2 separate regions of the Homo sapiens genome follow, and region 2 is linked to region 1. The links are contacts of gene promoters, found by promoter capture Hi-C in blood cells and fetal thymus (Javierre and others, 2016). All regions are on one chromosome and are shown on one strand. The core of a region is centred on a gene start or on the middle of the fragment in contact, and the rest is flanking DNA. Distances in the headings are between cores, read along the strand shown.

Evidence for each region. The method cuts DNA at HindIII sites, captures the fragments that hold promoters and counts their contacts. A CHiCAGO score of 5 or more calls a contact.
Region 2: a fragment that was not itself captured here is called in contact with the fragment with the promoter of KCNU1 in region 1 in 2 of 17 cell types (M2 macrophages and endothelial precursors); the score reaches 6.8 in M2 macrophages.

Annotation. Positions count from the first base shown.
Region 1 is chr8:36,782,518-36,786,618 of GRCh38, forward strand. KCNU1 (potassium calcium-activated channel subfamily U member 1) reads left to right here and starts at 1,857. Exons shown (of 27, transcript NM_001031836.3): 1 at 1,857-2,088. The coding sequence starts at 1,894. The HindIII fragment of the contact is 1,918 bases long and covers 250-2,167 here.
Region 2 is chr8:33,798,006-33,802,106 of GRCh38, forward strand. The region is part of intron 2 of LOC105379364 (a long non-coding RNA gene); the gene reads left to right. Among named protein-coding and RNA genes, the nearest start is that of DUSP26, 200 kb to the left of the region's middle. The HindIII fragment of the contact is 4,467 bases long and covers 1-4,101 here.

The sequences.
Region 1 (4,101 bases), core at 607-3,106:
TTATGCTTTTCAAAATATGTTCACACTACCTTCTTGAATCCCCACAATAATTCTATCAAGTAGGTATTATCTTCCACATAAAATCAAAAGACTACGAACATTAAAATGACTTGTTAGAAATCACACAGTAACTTAATAGAAGGACTGGGCTGGAACGCAGGGCTCCTAACTCCTAGACCAGTGTTCTTTTAAACATCGCCCTTTGTTATTAGCTAGCTCAATGACAGGATTTTGTAGAAATGATAGGTAAGCTTAAAAGCAGGAAATGTAACTGTGGCAGCAGTCCTAGGAAATGCTACAGTTATCTTCTGAAACAGCCTGCCAAACAGTGTGGAGTCATGGCGGGCTCCCAAGGACAGCGTGATGATTCCTCTTGGGCCTCTTCACCTGGTGTCAGGTTATCTTGGTAATAACTGGGGTGAACTAGGCCCTCCACTGGGCTCTGACATTTTGCCTGCCACTTGTGCACACTGAAAGGCATGACATTTCTTACACCTTTGAAAACATCAGGGAAAATCAAAGAAATTTCTCTCATTCTGAACTTTACCTCTGCTGGGCCAAAAGGTTTGCTGCCAGGGCAGTAATAAAAGCAAGAAAGGGGAGAGTTCCATAAAGAAGAGATAAGTGGAATGGATTTATGGGCTGAAATAACAATCAACCAATGACCACACTAGTTAAATTGTCTTCTTCAATACCTGCACTCTATACTATGCCTTTCTTATGTAAAGAATAAACAAAACCTTTTTTTTTCTGTTTCAAGATAATCTTGATTTTCATTGTGTGTAATTAAGGAGTACAACGTGATATTCTTTGGATTGATGCACAGCAGATACACATATTTTCAAGTCACGTGATAATTTAATACATTCACATAATTTGTGTACTTGGGATATCAATCAACTTACATATTTGTATTTTCTTTGTGCTAGAAACATTCAAATTTTTCTCTTCTAGCTATTTTTAAATGTACAATAGATTATCATAAGCTATAGTCACTTCACTGATCTATAGAACATTAGATGTTATTTCTTCTATCAAACCAAATATTTGTACCCATTAATCAACTTCTCTTTATCCAACTTCTTTCCTCAGCCACCCTTCCCGGCATCTCGTAACCATGAATCTACTCTCTATCTTTATGAGATCCACTGTTTTAGCTTCCGCATACAAGTACAAACGCAAAATGCTCTTTTGATAAACTTATGCATAGTGAAGCAGTGACTACAGTCAAGCAAATTCATATATCTATCATCTCACAGAGTTAATCATCTTTTGTGTGCGTGTAACAAGAGCCCTTAAAATCTACTCTTTTAGCAAAAATCCTGAATACAAATAATTTTATTAATTATGTTCTTTGTTCTGCACACTAGATCTTCTAGACTTATTCATTCTGCATATCTGCTCCTTTGTATAAAGGATAAACAAAAACTTTAAAGTACTTCTCTCTTCTGTCCTTCCAAGCCTACTAAGCACGTGGCATCCTCCCAGATAGAGAACCAACTCATTCACACACATAGTTGGCTGTTGTTTCACTCCGAAAGAGTTGATTTGAAATTATTTGACTGCATTAACTGAACTGATAACCAGCTGATCATTGCTACAGATAATGGGATTTCTTCAAGGCATAGAGAAAGTCGTAACAATCCGATCTAGAATTATGATTTTTTTGACTATTCATATTGTAGGCCCCAGCCATCTCCAGTTGTGTATTCATTCACAACCCATGAGCTGGCACCGGGGGATTGGCAGACCCTTGTTCCTGGAACTTCTCACTGGTTATCACGCCTAATGTTGGAACACTGTGGTACAGTGAACTCTGATTCCTGGAATTGTTACCAGGCGACCACGGCGTCATCAAATGACCTGGCAATTCCGTCTACTGATGTCTCGAACATGTTTCAGACTAAGCTACGAAATGAAACTTGGGAAGACTTGCCAAAAATGTCCTGCACAACTGAGATCCAAGCAGCATTCATTCTCTCTTCCTTTGTGACCTTCTTCAGTGGACTCATCATCCTGTTGATCTTCAGGCTGATCTGGAGATCTGTTAAAAAATGGCAAATCATCAAGGGAACAGGAATTATCTTGGTCAGTTTCCTTGTTAGGGATCCCTCTGTGTGAAGTCAGAGATGAGTTTGGGGTAGTTTTGTGTTTAGTAAAAGATCTAAGCTTCATTCAGTTTTTCAAGCTAACAGAGTCAGCTTCTATAGCCTGGTGCCTCAGAAAGGGTGGTAAGCCAGACCTCAGGCCACATTCTGAGGCCTGAAGAGACAGGGCCAAGCCTCTTCTCTCTCCCATCACTGGAAAAAGCAATGTCTTGTATGGATAATGATTAATGTTAGCTCTGGAAACAGAGGTCACTGTTCTGAAAAAAAGTTCATAAACATTATGTCCATGCCTCTATCTCGAATTTTAACAAGACAATTGTGCTAGGTCATAGAAAGGAGGTGAAAGGGAACAAGACATCAACATCAACCTTGCTTTCATAAATTGTTCATGCATAATGCATATGTACTGACGTGTACATTGCCTTTTGTATACCATATGAAGACAACACATTGAGTTGCACATACACAGAGAAGCCCATGCATACATGCCTGTGCCATCCAGGCATAGATGCAAGGACATTTCTTATACCCAAACAAGCTTAGCAGGAGTTGATGTTGTTGAATAACAGCTGGCAAATGATGATGATGAGAATAAATGATGTATTATACAGATAAGGCATTGCTTAAGAGCTTGAAATAAAGCTCTCAAATGCTGTGTAATGGATGTTCTATTACCAGAGGTCAAAGGTGAAGAGTTTTACTATACCCTGTGTAGTTTGTTTCCAATTTTGCTTCCCAAACTTTCTTTCTCTGATAGATTATAGCAATTTCCATAACACAACACATTTCACCTGTGCATCATAATATTGAAAATTTGCTTAAAACATTTCTTTTAGTGCTAAAACCTACATAAAATATAATTCATAAATTGATAAGTTTTTAAAGTTATTGGTAATATGGAATTTTGTTTTCCATATTTGAAAATTATCCAATACTGAAGCTTATAGATTTTGTTCCTAAACAAGTTTATTCTATTGATTATTTCTACATTATGGATTTTAAGCTGTGGCACAATAATTGGAGAAAGAATTCTGGGATACTGACATATGGGTAAATAGCTATGATGGATCTGCCTCCTTGTTTCTACCTTGTTTTGTTGTTGTTAATGCACAACTGAATTTGTAGGATTTTTAAATCTTCTTAGTCTTCTGCTCCAGGCAATGTTCTTCTTCTCCATTATGTTCATTTTGTGTGATTACAAAAATGTGACAGTACATTTGTCAATTTCCTATATTTTTCATTTCTTACTTTGGGTGTAATTTATGTCTACACTTCGATCCAGGTATACCCTTTAATTACAAATATTTAGCAAATGTTACAAAATGTTAAGAAGTGAGCCTGAGCAACCAGAATGCTGTACCATTCTGCTTTTGAATCTTGAGGAAAGAGTTTGATCAAGTTGAGTTACTTTTCAATGATTTGTTTTATTACATCAAATTAAGAGTGACCTGTTTTTCTCTAAGCCTTTGGAGAAGTTGGACAAATGCAAAAAAAAAAAAAAATCAGAAATCTAGGTGTACTGTGAAGAGTTATTTTAAAAATTATTTGGAGAGTTACAATTTCTCTCCTTAAATGTGCATTTAAAACATGTATTACATCTATAAATATGAGTTTATTATATCTTAGGACCAATTTGTTTTTCCACAGAAGGTAGCTCCAATTTTATGATGGAATTCAAATGAGTATTCTATATTAATGTCATACCTAGGATTTTTTAAAATTAATTCTCAGACAACATTTAGAAACCGACATGAGTCATGTTTATTAGAGGGCAAATCATTGATCAGGATGTGAACTTTTATCAAAGAGTTTTTTAATGAGACTTCCCTTTTTATCATTCAGAAAATATGAGTAGAAAAATTAAGTGATTTTGAAATCCTGGCTTCATATAAAATGAGCTTTTTTGAAAGTCAGAGGGACTCATCTAGCTTGGTGTGGGTAGTCCTAGTTGGTTTGTGTATTTCTTTGTGGTGGTTCTAGACTATTATCAACA
Region 2 (4,101 bases), core at 665-3,164, 3.0 Mb before region 1:
TGAGATTATAAATACAGTCGTCTCTCAGTATTGTCAGGAGATTGATTCCAGGACACCCGTGAATACCAAAATCCACAGATGCTCAAGTGTCTGATATAAAATGGTATAGTGTTTGCATATAACCTACACACATCTTCTTGTATACTGTAAATCATGTCTAGATAACTTATAATACCTATTACAATGTATATGCTATGTAAACAGTTGTTATTCTGTATTTTTTCACTTGTATTATTTTGATTGTTGTATTGTTAGTTTTAATTATTATTATTTTTCAAATATTTTCAACTCATAGTTGGCTGAATCCATGGATGTGGAACCATGGATACTGAGGGCCACCTGTCATTGCTTCCAGGTGACTGTTACTTGTTTAGCATCTGTCACTTTTCTCTTCCACTGCTCACTTTTTTTTTTTTTTTTTCAGACAGAGTCTCGCTCTGTAGCCCAGGCTGGAGTGCAGTGGCGCAATCTCGGCTCACTGCAACCTCCGCCTCCAGGGTTCAAGCAATTCTCCTGTCTCAGCCTCCCAAGCTGGGACTACAGGGGCCCACCACCATGCCTGGCTAATTTTTGTAATTTTAGTAGAAATGGAATTTCACCATGTTGGCCAGGCTGGTCTCAAACTTCTGACCTCAGGTGATTCACCCACCTTGGACTCCCAAGGTGCTGGGATTACAGGTGTGAGCCACCATGCCTGGCCTCCACTGCTCATTTTTTAAAAAATCTAAATTTAAGAACAATCCATGAATTACTGGGGCAATTGCTTTTTTTGACAGATAATATAGCCATGGAAATTCCTTCTCAATCATTGTTCTGCTGACTAACTCAGGCCACCGTATTTACTGTAGGCTAAGGACAATGGGGGTTACATGGAAGCCACGATGTCTGTCTTACTGGAGGTTTTCTATCCATTGGAGAAACAAGAATATGTACATGGATAATTAAAGGATAGGATGAAGTAGCATTTGGTATGTGTACTGGGGGTGGCACAGACACTATGCTCCACGGGAATGAACTAATGATGGAGCTGGAGTGGTCAAGGAGAAGGTCATGGAGGAGGGCAGCTTTACTCCTACTGAATGGGATGGGGAGGATTTTGATGGGTGCAGAGAAGCAAAATTGCATTTCTAGTCTCATGTGTTATTGAGGCAGCATAGTTCAGGGGCTCTAAGAAAAGTTTCTGGAACAAGGCTGCTTGGGTTTAGATCCTGATTCTGCTACTTTTTAGCTGTAAATCTAAAGAAAAGTAGAAATTTGACTTCTCTGAGGTTTAGTTTTCTAATCTCTAAGGAGGTAGAAGGAGGAAAAGAGAATTTCAGTCAGGGTCCCAACAGGAAACAGATGGTGTCCTCTAAACAGGATGATTTATTTACAAGTATTAGTGCAGTAACGTGGAGCAGGAGCGGTGAGGGGAGAGGATAGGATATTATTATTAGATCCTTAGGATTGAGTGGGAAAGAAGGGTCCCTAGGAGCAGTAAGCCCAGTGTGGAGGAAGCCACCTCCAAAGAACAGTGCCCTTCAGGCTGGGGGCAGAACCAGCCTAAAGGAGCAGAGGGAAGGAGCCAGGACAAGCAAACACCTTCATTGCTCCATTGCTCTGATTTTTTGCCTGGCTTCATCCCTCTTTCCCTATGAACCCAGGAGCCCAATCAGGAAGCTACCATCTTGGGAAATGGATGAAACCATCCAGGTCAGGCTATCAGGATAAGAACCTGGAAGAGAATGGAAGAGTCTGGATCTGGAGAGGCAGACAGAAAGTGACCCAAGAGGGAACAGCAAAATGCGAATGATGTATTTTGTTAGGGAAAGGCTTGCTGCTTGACTCTAAGGCAGGGCGACAATAAATGTTGGAGAGAGATGTGGTAGGTTGAGACCCTGGGCTTCCCTGTTTGTTGCCTCCCCATGGTACTACACACTTTCCTTGAGGCAACTGTCTCTCAGGAACTTCTCTCCTTCTGCAGGCAGCAGTGCCTGTCTACATCCTTCTAGAGCTGCGTCCCTAGAACCACTTCAGCCTCCTTAGTAGCTGGGACTACAGGTATGCACCACCAGGCCTGACTAATTTTGTATTTTTTTGTAGAGACAGGGTTTTATCATGTTGCCCAGGCTGGTCTCGAACTCCTGAGCTCAAGTGATCCACCTGCGTTGGCCTCCCAAAGTGCTGATAGACTCTTCCTCCTTCCTTGCCTGTGGTTTTAAGAGCTGCCCTGATAACTGCAGCCTCGTTGGATTTTCTAGAAAGAAAGAGAGCTAGATTTAAAGCTGCTCCCTGAACCATAATCTCTGAGCTGTCATAGAGCCAGGCCATGTAATGCTTTGTTGCGGAAAAAAAGCTAATGTGACTCATTACAGCCTGATGCAGAGATTCCCTCTGACAGACACATGCGGTAATGGCTTGGAATGAACACACTCCTACGAACAATTGGAAAAGAGACTTCGCATTGTTCTTTTAGCCCATAATTGGTTAGCTGTAAAAAAGGACTGCATTGGTCGTACTACACATTTCCACTCTGAACAATGCCTTTATTGGATCAACTTAAATATATGAGGAATGAAGCAACCCAATGTCTGTATGTAGGTTTGAAAAACCAAGGTGTCCCTACAGCCAAGCCTTTAGGGGGTGCTGCTCTATTGCCTAACAGTTGTGTTTATGTTTCTCTTGCCATATTGAGCTTGACTCTCTCTTTCTACATAATGTTTTGGGGGGTAAAGGACTGTAGGGCTTGGGGACAAGCAGAAAATTACCCATTAGCAACTATCTCCATGAACAGATGCATTTGCCCCCTTCCCCGCCCTTACAGACAGAGCTTGAGAGGAAGATACCCACCAAGGGAAAGTTCTGAATTACATCTGTCTTGAAGTTTTAATTCTTTTTTCTTCCAGGTGCTAGTTCTGAGCCATTAAGCCCCAAATCAAGGGTGGTACTGCTTCCTTAGAGAAACAATGACATGGCAAGACATTATATTTCTTTCTAGAAAGTCATGCATTCATGCTCCTCTTATCCAAATTGTAGGCCACTGAGAAAGCTGGCTAATTGCAAAGGGGCTGGATTTCAGGGTGGGAAGAGTGAATGGGCCTTATTTTCTGATGAACACAGATGAAGTTGCAATTTGCCATCTTCAATCAACATCATCGGGAGGCATCAGCAAAGGCCACCCACTAACTGTGTTTTTGTAACAGAAATCTGAGATCCCTTCATATGACAGTTCTCAAGGTCAGCTTTCTGTGTTTTTCCATAGTGTCCTGCACTTATAGGATGATCTCAGATGAATTTGAATTGGTCTTCAATTTTGCTTTTGGATGCATATAAAATAATTCCTTTTGAAACAATACCCTCATGATTAAAAAACCACTGCAGCTAAAAATATTTAAATCAGGAAGAATCCCAAATAAAGAACTTGGCAAAACACATAAGATATGACAAAATTTTTGCTGGCAGAATATAAAATAGATATCAAAAGACTAAACTACACATACGGCACCATGAAGTGCTAGAGTTTTGCTTGGTATCGTTTTGCCCAAGATGTTTATACATCTCTATGTAACTGCAGCTAATCATATAAATTCTTTGTTTCAGTTTGAAATCTGCTCAGGTTGACACCTCCACTTTTGTGTTGATTTTCTCCCATCTTCTGATCTGTCTGCCTTTTTTATTTCTAAAGAATAAATTATTGGCAGAGCATGGGCTTGAGAAGCAGAGTTTTGATTCTCTTTAATTTTTTTCTTCTTTTCCTCATCTTCCTGTGCTTATCTCTGGCAACCCCTGATCTTAAACTCCAGACTTAACTCACATTATCTCAATAAACCCTTCTTGTTTTAATTCCCTGTCAGACTGATCTTTTCCTTTCCTCCCTCCTTCTTTTCCTCTCTATTTTTTATTTCTTTCCCTAGATGTCCTCCATTTTATGGGTCAACTATAAATTATAAACTGACACATATCATGGGTGGATTGTTCTGCTTGGTGGGCAAGGTGGTCACAACAGATTTCATGACATCAGCTTTTCCACTTAAAAGGGAAAGGCTTATCCTAAAACTAGGACCATTCTTTTCTTTTTGTTAAGACTTTCTCTGCCCAATTTCACTTTGGGCAAAGGAAAGT